Linked DNA regions of Homo sapiens: region 2 is linked to region 1. The links are contacts of gene promoters, found by promoter capture Hi-C in human tissues and cell types (Jung and others, 2019). All regions are on one chromosome and are shown on one strand. The core of a region is centred on a gene start or on the middle of the fragment in contact, and the rest is flanking DNA. Distances in the headings are between cores, read along the strand shown.

Region 1 (6,918 bases), core at 4,419-6,918:
AAAAAAAAAAAATACAAAAAATTAGCTGGGCGTGGTGGTGGGCACCTGTAGTCCCAGCTACTCAGGAGGCTGAGGCAGGAGAATCGCTTGAACCCCAGATGCGGAGGTTGTAGTGAGCCAAGAGCGTGCCACTGCACTCCAGCCTGGGCGATAGAGCAAGCCTCTGTCTCAAAAACACACATAAAAAAACCTTCAAACGAATGTAAGAATTATTATTTTTTAAAGTACAGCTTTAAAAATGCCCCTTACAAATACATCAGTGTTATATTAAGGCAAACCTACTTCAGAAGCACAAAGTTAATTTCTTATAATTCCAAGAAATATGTGAATGTTAAAAAAACCCCAAACACCCGAAAAGGGATCAAACTCAAGATAGTTTGGAACATTTTATTGCAAAAAGAAGGGCAGAGAACAGTCTTCTTCTTCATACCTGTTCACCACAGACCTCCCTGAGAGCAGTAATTTTTAGCAGCTCTCCTGTGCAAACAAGTCTCATGAAGGAATCAGTGTATGGGCCACAAATACCTTCTCAGTGTGGTTTCACCTAGAATACAAGCACTCAGAAGCACAAATTTAACTGAAGTGAGAAACCAGGCCATTTTGTAGCTTCAGTTTTTCTACCAGTAATATATTAATTTCTTGAAATAGCCTAATAATTTAGTTCTACTATCAAAACAGAAGCCCAATCTGGGAGCACAATTATTATAGAAATCAAACTAATTTCAATCATATTAGTATAGGAATTCATATTAGTATAGGCTGAGGCAGGAGGATCACTTGAGCCTAGGAGTTTGAGACCAGCCTGAGCAAGACAGTGAGACTCCATCTCTAATTTTTTTCTTAAAATAAAGAAATTCAGAGAGAAGAAGGAAGAGGATATGTGTTTATCCAAGGACAAATTTTGTGTGCCTGTACATACAACACAACTATGAACCTTCCTTCACGCAGCTCACAACCTAGTAGTGAGAGGGAACTATGAAAACGTGAGCCCCCACGATGAGGAAAAAGGTGCATATCAGAGAAAAGAAAAATGCTGCGATGATCCAATGGCAGGAGCAGCGCGCATCCACTTTCTTTGTTTTTTTGAGATGGGGTTTCGCTCTGTCTCCCAGGCTGGAGTGCCGTGGCTTGATCTCAGCTCAATGCAGCCTCAACCTCCCAGGCTCAAGTGATCTTCCCATCTCAGCCTCCCAAGTAGCTGGGAATACAGGCGTGCACCACTACACTCATTTACTTTTTGTAGAAACAGGGTCTCACAATGTTGCCAAGGCTGGCATCCTGAAGGGCGGGTGGGGCTTCATCCTACAGAGATGAAAGGCAGAAGAAGCTTAGAGCCCAAAGCAAAGGGGTGGAGGACAAGGGCATCTTCAGAACAGAGTGGCTCGGCTGAGACATCCAGTAGGATGCCACCAGGCAGAGGTGTGGTGGAAAAACACAGGGCCACGGTGAATGCTCACATGTGAGGAGCAAACCACCACAGAACACAACAGAAACACGGTGTACTAAATCAGGCTTCAAATCGCAGCCCTGCAACTTGAGAGCTACCACAGGTAACCCGGAAAGGGAGCACCGACAGCAATGCCCACTGCCTGAGGCTGTGAGATGGACCAGAAACCTGTGCTTACTAACAACCTGCCTTATTCCAGAAGGAATTCAGGAAACACAGAGACACTCACGGTACAGCAAAATAAAGTAAATGTGAATCATATTGGTTGAGAAGAAAGTGAAGAGTCTAAGACTATGTCATAAAGTTTACTTCTACTCTAAACTCTCATTACTGGTGAGCCACCAACCTGACTTTAAATTTTCTAGCAGCTAAATTGAAGAGGAAAATGTCATCAGGTAAACGTTTATAAGATGCAAACAAAACAGAACGGCCACCACAGTTTCTGAGAACACGCGCAGCTCCAGGAGAAATGGGGTGGCCATTTCCTGGGGCTGCCCCGCAGCAGGTGTGTGAGCCCGAAAGCCAGCGTCTCTCAGGGTGAACAGTGACTACGGGCTTCATGGGGCCACATGCCCCCAGCACAAGCTGAGGAAATCTCCCAGGGCAATTCAGGCAACAGGGTCTCACAGTGTCGCCCAGGCTGGTCTCAAACTCCTGGGCTCAAGGGATCCCCCTGCCTCGGCCTCCCAAAGTGTTGGGAGGTCAGGCGTGAGCCACTGCACCTGGCCCTGCACTCACATTAGAGAAGAGGGCTTTGCATCCTGAAGGGCGGTGGGGCTTCATCCCACAGAGATGAAAGGCAGAGGAAGCTCAGAGCCCAAGGTAAAGGGGGGCGCCTAAGAAAAGTGACTCCATTGGGACCACGGTGAGAGGGTCCCGATACACAGCTTGGGTTAAGCCACTGATTTCAAAGTATCTCAGGAATGGTGGACTCAGCACCCATCAGGCAATTCTCTCAAGCAGTCTCCTGGTAGATATTTAGTAGCAGCTGAAATCAAGATTATGTTCTGATAGACACTTGCTGATGGTTAAAGAGCTATATACACTTTGAGGACCAGCTGAACTGGGGCAGGACTAACTCCCTCTGGTGAAAATACAGGAACCCAAACACACAAGTCAGAGCAGGAGGTGTCTCCCCCACCCCCAAACAATAATGCTGACCTTGGATTTGGGTTAAGTGCCTAGCCCAGCGTGTGAGTGTTGAGTAAGTGGAAACCATCATCACCATCATCAGGTAATGGAAAACCATCAAAGCTTTGAGCTGGCTTGTTAGCCAAGAATAGTACCAGTGTATTAGCTACTACTAATACTCACAGCTGACAATTACTGAGCACTTGCTCCGTGCCAGGAATCACGGAAACACCTCGCATGCATTTCCTCAATACTCCCTCCCAGTAACGGCGAGGACACAAAACTGGTAGAGCCAGGACTGGAATCCAGGCAGGCCCCAAAGCACTCCAGTGGAGCCTGCCAAGGTGGGCAGGCTACCATACTAATGCGGTCCAGTATTTGACCACCACTCCTATTTGAGCAAGTTTAACAGAAAACCTAAAACTAAACCTAAAATCTAAAAATTAGAGCAAATGCATAAAAAGCAGGCTGTTAAAATGGATCATAAATCTTGCATCACTCATTGGAAAACCACTCAAAATAAATGTCTCTGAAACATGGCCTCTGAGGAGGGCACTCCGTGTGGCTTGTATCACCCTGGTGACAAACCACTTGAACCTGGATGGTCATCTGACCATATTTAACAGGTGATGCACAGAGCCATTTGCATCCACTGTGGTCAACATTTAGGAAGTTTTAAGCTGAGATTTGCCAAATTGTAGCCTACTGGATTCCGGGTTCTCTTGACATCTCTTTCTAGTAGCCACGTCTTGCACTTCCCGAGTAAAAACGAACTGAGATGCAAATAAAAAAAAAAAAAACGAGGATTTAAGAATAATGAAAAGAGAAAAACCAAGAAAGCACAATCACTAGTGTAGAGATAACAGCATTTCTGAATTCCCTGAAAACAATCTATAGAAATGCATGTGAAATAATACACCAGCATCTGTGGCCCACACGCCACATATTAGGAACTGATGTCGTAATATAAGGTAAAAATGTTACTCTGAAAACACAAATCCTCACAAATCATTAGGCAGTAAGGCTGAATCCAGCACCCCCCCACCCACAGCGCAGTGAGGCAGTGTCTAGCAGCCGTAGTGCTCCCCGCGCCCCAGTTCAGTCTCTGGCAACTTCAGATACTTCCCACTAATAACAAGAAGCCTTTCAACATTTTCACAACATCTCAAAACTGACCCCTTTTCTAGCTTAAATGGCACGGATCTGGAAAAGCAAACTATACACAGAATCAGAAAAGATGACTGCCCCTGAGGGATTACAGAAAAAGTGGCAGTCAGGTTTCAATGAAGTAAAATGTGTCCAATGATAGCGGAGGGGAGGGGGATCAACTGAGCTGAAACTGGCAAGAACGTAATTCCAGGGAGCTCACAACACGCAAGGACCCGGATTTCCCGCTGCCTGAACGCCCAGTATTCGCACACTGATAAGAACACCTCCCCATAATCCCCTGGCCAGCGCCTCCAACACCCCCAATCCTTTCCCCAGGAACCCAGTCCCAGTTTCTGCAGTTCCTGTAACAGCCACATTCCCATACAAGGGCTGCCTGAGCTCCCCAAGCCCTCCAACAATCACCCCCCAGTGCCCTCGAAGGTCTATTCAGAGAAGTCACCAAGATGCAGTCACCCAGGAAATTCAAGGACCTCCAACTTACCAAAAGGCTTTCGGCTGTACAGAGCTAAGCTTCCTATTCCCCTCCTAAACCTACAATCTAGTTTTCATTTCTCAAGAAGCCTTTCCCTGTGCTCACGCACGCAGTTGTTAGCTGGCTCGGTGAGGCACTCCAAGCAGTAACAGCGGTAGCCACAAAATAAACCAGAAGCATCTCCACTACGAAGCAGTAATAACAATTTGTCCTAATGATTCCTTTGTCCTTGGAAAAACAACTTCAGAAAGTTATCCACTGTGAACAGGGCAGGCTCGCGGCTTCTTGGTCCGGAGACCCAGTTCCCACTGGCCCACTCACCGTTGGAGAGAGCTTGCTGAAGCTCGGTGTCTGATATCACTCCACTCCTGTCTTTATCGACCCTATAACATCAAGAAGACCAAATAAGCTGGCGATCGAAAGTTCAGGAAAAGCAAAACAAACGTCTTCTGTCAACCCTGCACCGACTCTGGAAGGCTCCCTCCTGGAACCTCCGCCTCTCCCGTCCCGCTGAGGAGTACAGCGGAATCAAGGAAGTGCCCCAGGAGCCGACGTCCAGTGTGGTCTTCCCCTAAGAGGACAATCATCTTCACCTCAATCCTTCCCTTCCTTCCTCTCCTGGCCTGTCTGAATTCCCATTTGCACCCGTTTCCCTTTTTCACAGACAAGACAAGATTCCCTCAGATAACTAAGCCATTCCCTGGCCATCAGTCACTACAGTTTCGGACATTCGGTGGAAAAGCGACCAGGGACAGAAGGCGCCGCCATAAAGGTCACCTGGCCCGAGCAGACGCCAGGTCGCTGCTTCTTCCTTGGCTGCTGACATTTTAACAGCGCCCAGGCAGTCTGTTTCCGCTTTCCCCAAACAAGCACCCTGGAGACCCTCCACCTGGCGGCTCTTGAGGCGAGAAAAAGGGCCTAGCCCAGGAGCCGGTGGCCGCGACCTCGGGTCTGCAGTGGCGCACTCTGCATCTTGGGAAGGGCCCGACGCACAGGACAGGGACCGGGCAGGAGGCAGGGGCGGCCCCAGGAGACCGGGCAGCGGACGGGGGAGACCGCGGGGGACCCGCCAGGGGACGGGGGCGGCCGCGTCGGCTGGGGCAGGGGTCGGGGGCGGCGGCAGGGGACGGGAGGGGGCCGCGGGGGACCCGACAGGGGACGGAGGAGGCCGCAGTAGAACCGGCAGGGAACGGGGTTGGTCGGGGGAGTCGGGACAGGGGTCGGGGCCGCCGCGGCGGAGGCGGGAGGTGCCCGGGCGGTGCCAGGCCGCACCTCTGGAAAACGTTCCACAGGAAGCTCTGGTCCGGCAGCGCCGCGCCTGCAGCAGGCCCAGGGCCGGCCCCAGGGCCGGGGCGGTAAGAGTAGGCGGCCATGGGCCAAGGCACGCGGCTGGGCTGAGGCGCCTGCAGCGACGAGAGACCTCTCAGGCCGACTCCGCTTCCGCCTCTGCCGGGGGCAGGGCCTGGCATTATCACCACTTCCGGGGGCGCAGGAAATGCGTGGTCTCCGGGATGGTCACGGGGTCCCGCGCAGCCAATCCCCTCGCAGCTAAGTTGCCAGGCAACGCCCTGGCGCCTGCGGGGAGGGCGGGGTCTGGGCGCCTGGAGGAAGCCAGAGCTTTGGCGCAGGCCGCCTGCGCGCTGTGCCAGGAAAGCGCTTGGAGAAAATGTCCGGCCCCGCGACCTGGGACAGGAAGTGATGGAGCACGGACTTAGTTTGCCTTTCAGTTCTTGTATAAATAGTTTTGAGGTGAATGTGATTTGCTAACAGTCGGAAACTCTGGGCGGGGCGCGGTAGCTCACACCTGTGATCCCTGCCCTTTGGGAGGCGGAGGCGGGCGGAGCTCTTGAGCCCAGCAGTTCGGACCAGCCTGGGCAGCATGGATAGACCCCATCCCTACAAAAATTACAAAAAGTAGTCGGGCGTGGTGGGCTCCTGTGGTCCCATCTACTCCGTGGGCTGAGGCGGGAGGATTGCCTGAGCCCGGGAGGTCAAGGCCGCAGGGAGCCGAGCTCACTGCACTACAGGGGTGGACAGCGAGACTCTGCCAAAAAAAAAAAAAAAAAAAAGAAAGCAAAAGCAGGCCGGGCGCGGTGGCTCACGCCTGTAATCCCAGCACTTTGGGAGGCCAAGGCCAGTGGATTACCTGAAGTCGGGAGTTCGAGACCAGCCTTGGCCAATTGGGAGACACCCCGTATCTACTAAAAATACAAAACTAACCGGGCGTGATGGTGCACACCTGTAATCCCAGCTACTCGGGAGGCTGAGGCAGGAGAATTGCTTGAAACCGGGAGGAGGAGGTTGCAGTGATCCGAGATCGGGCCATTGCACTCCAGGCCTGGGCAACAAGTGCAAAACTCTGTCTCAAAAAAAAAAAAAAAAAAAAGTCAAAACACAATTCGGGTGGGAAAGGCAGTGTGCAGCATTCTCGGTTGTCTGTTCCGCCCCCAAAAGCTTCCCTCCTTTAGGTTTAACCTGCGCCCCCGTGCTCTGCATCAGCGCGGCCCCTGACCCCGTGCAGCTGGAAACACTGCTGGGCCCCTTCACACCCCTGCCTGCTGGGCCCCTTCACACCCCGGTGGTGGTGCAGCCCTGCCTCCCGCAAGACAGCACTGCCTTCGTGCTGGACACAGTTCTAAGGTGGAGCCTGGAGTGCCTGTAGCACAAATCCCGGAATTGGGAAGTGCCCAGCTTTGGG
Region 2 (6,918 bases), core at 1,976-4,475, 390 kb before region 1:
AAATATTGTAGAAGATATATATTTATACTGGACTACTTTTACACCTTCTAATATCCTGTCCAAGTTTGGGCGCAGATGGTGGAGTTGGGCTGGCATCATGTCCTGTGGCCGCCCCACTTGCCTGTTGGTGCCACTCCATCCCGGGCCCCAGGGATGCCAGCTCAGGGCTGACCACAGCAGCCCTGCGTGGGCATCACCTCCTACCCCAGCCCCCATCCTGGGCTGCTGCGGCCGCCTGCTTTTGTGAATGGTGTTTTGTTGGCACAGGGCCTGTCCTGTGTTTTCACACAGGCCTGTGGCTCCTGCTGTACAAGTGGAGTGGGGAGGAGTTGAGATGGAGATGCCTTGGCCCTGGACACTTACCTGTCCCTCTACTGGCCCAGCTCATCTCCTCCTGTGGGCAATCACGCGTGCACTGGCCACCCTCCCACCCCACAGCACACACCACGAGGGGATGGCACAGGGGGAAGATGAGGCTGGACCGTGATGTTATCAATAGGCTAGAACGTCCTTCAAACACTGAACCTGCATCTTTCCTCCTCTTACTACTGAACACTTTGTGAGCTCTGGTGGTCCAGGGTGCAGCGTTTGTCCCTGGGCATGTGATGGGGAGTCCTGGGCACATCGAGATGCTTTACTTCTTTCTTTCGACCTCTTAAAAAACTAAACCAAGCCAAACCACAAAGGAAATCTGCACAACTTAAGAGAAACTTGAAAGGGATCGTGTAACTACTAGTTTGTACTAAGTTTTTTTCAAGAAAGGGAAACAAATTTATATATATATATATATATATATATGTGCAATATATTTTTACACTGTGTGATTAACATTAGGGAGTACTGAGTGCATCACTTTATCAGTGTGACGGGTGATGTCCACGTCATGGCTGTTCTGACTCTGAAAGCCACTTCTGCTGATGTCTAAACCGCACTCACCGCGGACGTCCGCGGGGTGGGGTGGCCCTGCTGTTCCTCCTGCAGGTGAGAGGTGTGGTGTTGCCTGTTGGACTTGCTGTTGAGCCTGGCTTGCAAACCTGTAGTGAAACAGCTCGTGTCTGTGTGCACACTGCTCCTGTGTCTGCTGTCGTTAACATTGTGTGTCAAGTTGGTAAAGTGACAAATAAAGGTGTTAAAACATGGATTTCTCTGTTCCTCAGAGCACACGTGTCTGTAACAGGTGATAACAGGGGATAGGTACTGGAGGGGCCCCAGGTGGGGAGTGTGCTGAGTGCCTCCACTGGGCTGAAGCTCACAGGGCCAAGGCCCTTGTGTCGCCTTTTCCCGAGGGAGTCTCTCGCTTCCTCATCTAGACAGGAGGACCGTGAAGGAGGAGCAGGCGGACCAGCCATCTGTCAGGTGTGAGTCCTGCTCTAGCACTGGTGTAGCCCTGGGTGGGGTCTAGATTCAAGGGGAATGGACATGAACACTGTGAACACCACCAGAGCCCCCAAAACAGGACAATGTCATCACAGGCTGCTATAAAAAAAATGCCAACCTGAGATACTAGCCCAGCGAAACAGTTTTCCAAAATGAGGATACAATAAAGGCATTTTTGGACAATGAAAAGAGAATTTGCCACCAGCAGACATTTAAAGAAATTCTAAATGCAGAAAGCAAAGGTGATCTCAAATGGCATGTCTGGTTTGTGAAGAAAGTGGAGCAAAGAGAATAAATAGGTCAATAACTCCAAATTAACAGTGGCTATATCAATACTTTGTGAGATTAAAATGTTTCATAAAAATACTTGGGAACCCCCACAGGTGAGCAGAACAGGAGCATGGAGAGGGACGCGCGCCTCGCGCTCCAGGAACCAACCCCAGAGGTGGGTGAGAGCATGGACTAAACGCACACATGCCATAAGCATGGGACAGAAGCAGAGTACAGTCTCCAAACGAGCAGAGGGACATGCGGGATGACAGGAGATCATCCAAAAGTGGCAAAAGTGAAGAGGGAAAAAACCATGAATAGAACAAACAGCACAAAATGAGATGGCAGATTTAAACTAATGAGATGGTGGATCAATCAGCTTCGCTGAGGCCGGGCGCGGTGGCTCACACCTGTAGTCCCAGCACTTTGGGAGGCCGAGGCGGGCAGATCACAAGGTCAGGAGATTGAGACCATCCTGGCTAACACAGTGAAACCCTGTCTCTGCTAAAAATACAAAAAATTAGCCAGGCGTGGTGGCGGGCGCCTGTAGTCCCAGCTACTCGGGAGGCTGAGGCAGGAGAATGGCGTGAACCCGGGAGGCGGAGCTTGCAGTGAGCCGAGATCACGCCACTGCACTCCAGCCTGGGCAATAGAGCGAGACTCCATCTCAAAAAAAAAAAAAAAAAAAAAAAAAAAAAAAAAAAAAAAAATCAGCTTTGCTGATAAAACAAGAGAAAGAAACACAGAACAGGGAAATTGATAAAATAATATTTTAACCCATATTTATTTGTAATTTCAGCATGGCTAATGATAGATCAGATCAGAAATTGAAAAGAAAATGGAGGCAAAGGGTGTTTCTTTGAAAGGACTGAAGAGAAAGTTCAAATAACGAATATGAAGAATGGCCAAGAATGGGCTGAGTCCCCGGGAGGCAGATGCTGAGGTGGCCTTTGTATCACAAGAGGCTCACTGGTGAGGAATGCCCCTGAACAGCAGCAAGGGGAGGAGGCCGGGAGGCCTCAGGGAGGCTCTGGAGATGACCTGCTAGGGAGCTCCCTGTGGTTCGCATTAGGCCCAGGCCCTGCCTGCTTGGACACTGGCTGCAGCTGCCTGGATGAGTGTGTCCTCAGCTCCAGAGCCCAGGCACAGCCTGACAGCATGGTGGCTGGAGATGGTCTCTACCCCTGTACTCCCTGCCCCTGGATGGCAAGGTCTCGCTTGAAGGGACACAACTGTCCCTACATCTCTGCCACAGGGACACACACAACTTCAAATGTTGAAGCCATTCAAATTATGTGTGTTATACCCCCCAAAATGGAAAATTAAGACAATATGGACCAATTCTTAGAGACACATAACTTACAAAAACTAACTCGAAAAGAAATGGAAAGCCTGCTCAGCCCTGTGACTTAGGGGAAGTCACTGCCAGCTACAAAAGAAAACCCCTAACACTTCAGTGGCTGGACACACAAAATGTATTACTCACACAACGTCCAACTTCAGGAATAACAAGAGATCTCTTCTAACAGAAGACAAACAGACTTCCTAATCCTGTGATGCAGCTGCCCAGGTCACTGGCAGGGAAGCTATCACAGTGACGCACCAGCTCCCGCTGCTCTGGCCCTGAAATGACTCACCTCAGTCCCACACACAGGCTGTTGCTCAGTAGTCACACGGCCCCAGCCCAACTCAGGGATATGCAGCGTAAAGGCAGGGGGGACATAAGGATGGTCTGTGTGAACGGTTCTGCCACATCCTGGAACACTGAGTTATACTGGATCAGTAGTCAAACCTCCTGACAAAGAAAGTTCCAGGCACAAGTGACTTCACCAGCAAGTTCCATCAAACATCCATGGAAGAAATAATTATAATCTTAAGTAAATTCTCCTAGAGAATGGAGAAAGAATACACAACCTAGCTCATTTTACGGTGGTGTAAAGATGCGAATCCTTTCAAGAACAGCATTACAAAGGAAAATCGTAAGTGGCTGTCACCCGTGAAGAGAGATACTAACCACTGTACTAGAGCACGCAGCTACCCAGTGCTCAGGACGCACCAGATGCTGCCCGAGAGTCTTATTCATACTAACTCATTTCACCTTCACAACAATCCTGTGAGGAAGCCACTATTTCCCCATTGTACAGACGAGGAAATCAGGGCCCAAACACAGGTGCTAGGTAGTATAGCTGGGCCACAAAATGCTAAACAAAATATTAACAAACCAAATATAACAATATGTATGTAAAAGAAAATCCATAATTATTAAGTTGGACTTATCTCAGAAATTCAAGGTTTATTTTTAACAAAAGCAAATTATGGTCGTTAAACACATCAATATATTAAATGATAAAAATCATGGTCATCTCCATCACTGCAGAAAAAGTGATAAAAGTCATCCATTCTTGAGGCGAATTATTGATAGAAGAAGCTTTAAAACAAGCAAAAAAAATCCATTACAAGTGAGTGGATAAATGGTGAGAATTTATCACCCCTTTGAATATCAGGAAGAAGACAACGATGCCCACTCTGTTACCACCTCTAATCAGCACTGCACTAGGGGTTCCGACCAGTGTAGAAAAGCAAAAAACAAAACAAAAATAAAAACATAAAGTAAAAATCCAGAACAACAGGAATGGGAAAGAAAACCCATTACTCATAGAAAACATGACTGTGTGCCTAAAAATGAGGAAACAGCTACAGGCAAATGATTAAAATTACTAGACTGCCGGATACAAATTAATACACAAAAATGAATTTCCATGAAATGGCAACACATAATTAGGAAAATGAAATCCAAGCACATTTTTAAAAACAGCATCGCAAAATAACAAGGACCTAGGATTAAATGTAACAAAAGACATACAAGACCACTGTGAAAAGTATCAGGCTGTATGAACACCCGCTGAAGGAGCCCTAACATTTGGAGAGACAGATACCATGTTCAGAGCTTGTAAAACCCAGTACTGCAAGTACGTCAATGATTCCCAAGTTGATCTACAGGTTCAACACAATCCCAAACAAAATCCCAACTCGACCGGCTAGTTCTAAAATGTATGAAACACAAAGGGTCAAAAACAGCCAAGACATCCTAACATAAGATGGAGGTACGCGCCCCAGAGTGTGTGGTATTGGCAGAGACAGACAAGGAGATGCAGAAACGGACACAGAGATCATCCTGACAAAGGAATCTTCAGCAGCCGGGACTGGGAAAACTGGGCTTATGTCTGCAACACAATGAAACTGGATCCTTAAGCTTCACAACAGGCGCAAAAATCAATTCTGGGTAGAATCTATATCTAAAATCCAAAATATACAAAACTATAAAATCCTTTGGAAGGTAACAGAGTATCTTTATGATCAAGGCAAAGTAAAGATTATTAAAAATTAGGATCCAAAATGCTTTAATCATAAAAGAAAATATTGATACATTGGGCCATATTAAAGTTTAAAATTTCTCTTAAAAGACACCATTGAAGTAAAAAGACAAGAAAAGCTATTTGCAAATGTAATTCACAAAGCACTACTACCCAGAATCATAAATAACACCTGCAAATAAATGAGACAGACCATCCAATAGAAAAGTAGGGAAAATACTTGAATAGGTACTTTACAAACAGGAAATCCCAATGAGCCGCAGACACATGAGAAGGTGCTGAACAAGGAGAAGCCAATGAAACCAGAAAGAGGTCTACCCCACACGTTCCACCACCCCGCGCCCTCCGCCACCCCGCGCCCTCCACCACCCCACTCCCTCCACTACCCCACACCCACCGGAGTGAAGGTGCTAACACTTCAGGCAATGGGTGCTGAAAACATGGACCGGCAGACGTGGTCATACACAACTAGCAGTCGGGCCTGCGGGTACCACCACTTTGGAACAGTTGGGAATTTCTAGTAAACCTGTTAAAAACATGGTTAAGCAGTTAATGGAAACGTGAACATAATGGGATATAAAACTAATGAAAAAAATCAAATGGAGTTTTTTTGTTTTTTTTTTGAGACGGAGTCTTGCTCTGTCGTCTAGGCTGGAGTGCAGTGCTGCAATCTTGGCTCACTGCAACCTCCGCCTCCCAGGTTCAAACGATTCTCCTGCCTCAGCCCCCCAAGAAGCTGGGACTACAGGTGCCCACCACCATGCCCAGCTAATTTTCATTTTTAGCAGAGATGGAGTTTCGCCATGTTGGCCAGGCTGGTCTCAAACTCCTGGCCTCAAGTGATCCTCCTGCCTCAGCCTCCCAAAGTGCTGGGATTACGGTGTGAGCCACCCCGCCTAGCCTCAAATGGAATTTTAGAACAAAAATATACCTAATTTCTGATATAAAAAATTCACTATACAAGCTTAACATCAAATTAGGCAAGTGGAAGAAAAGATTAGTAAGCCTCGCAACAGGACAATAAAACCACCTAAAGGAAAGGATGAGAGAACAAGGATGAAAAAGCATCACGTTTAGTGACCTGAGAGACAGTATCACAGTCTAACAGAAAGCTAACTAGAGTCCCAGATGGGGACAGGGAGGAAGAAGTGAGAGACGGGGTCAGACAAGAAATATGAGTAGTGGCTGCAACTTTGCCAAATCTGGTGAAAAATATGAACTCACAGGTCCAAGAAGCTCAATGAAACCCAAACGAGGTAAGCATCTATAAGCTTAAAGTGGATTAATATTAACATCTTCTAATACTCTTACATACATAAATTACGTGATGACAAATTAACCCCATCCCAACCCTACAGAAAATAAATTTGGTATGACACATTTTCCTGTTAGGACCACAACTGGACAGAGAGGTGACACAAGAGGGCAGCCTGAAGCCTAGCAAGTCCTCTTCGGGGAAGAGACAGCAGAGTCCCACCTCTGATTTCCCCAGGGATACAATCCACACGCACACACACACACACACAGAAGCACACACACACACAGCTAGCAGACACACACAGCTAGCACACAAGCACACACATAGCAAGTGCACATACACAACGCGTGCACACACAGCACACACACAGGGTGCGTGCGCGCACACACAGCGCACACACAAGCGTACACACAGCTAGCACACAGCAACTGCACACACACACAGCAAGCGCACAAGCACACACACACAGCAAGCATGCACACACAGCTAGCACACACACAGCAAGCGCACACACAGCTAGCATGCACACACAGCTAGTACACAGAGCAAGTGCACGCGCACAGAGCACACACAGCAAGCGCACACAGCTAGCACACACAGCACACACACACAGCTAGCACACACACAGCTAGCACACAC

The links. The method cuts DNA at HindIII sites, captures the fragments that hold promoters and counts their contacts. A contact is called where the count stands out against the background at its distance.
Region 2: a contact is called between a fragment that was not itself captured here and the fragment with the promoter of PDCD6 in region 1, in 4 of the 25 tissues and cell types used here (dorsolateral prefrontal cortex, lymphoblastoid cells, mesenchymal stem cells and 1 more).

The regions. Positions count from the first base shown.
Region 1 is chr5:270,396-277,313 of GRCh38, reverse strand. It overlaps PDCD6 (programmed cell death 6), which reads right to left and starts at 5,668. Exons shown (of 6, transcript NM_013232.4): 1 at 5,493-5,668; 2 at 4,542-4,603. The coding sequence starts at 5,593. PDCD6-DT (PDCD6 divergent transcript) reads left to right here and starts at 5,790. Exons shown (of 2, transcript NR_104613.1): 1 at 5,790-5,969. PDCD6-AHRR (PDCD6-AHRR readthrough (NMD candidate)) reads right to left here and starts at 5,668. Exons shown (of 13, transcript NR_165163.2): 1 at 5,493-5,668; 2 at 4,542-4,603. RefSeq lists a silencer at 5,376-5,585 and enhancers at 5,876-5,965, 6,627-6,918. The HindIII fragment of the contact is 6,729 bases long and covers 3,481-6,918 here.
Region 2 is chr5:654,085-661,002 of GRCh38, reverse strand. It overlaps TPPP (tubulin polymerization promoting protein), which reads left to right. Exons shown (of 4, transcript NM_007030.3): 4 at 1-1,141. It also overlaps a transcript of CEP72 not described here. Among named protein-coding and RNA genes, the nearest start is that of TPPP, 36 kb to the left of the region's middle. The HindIII fragment of the contact is 7,661 bases long and covers 1-6,918 here.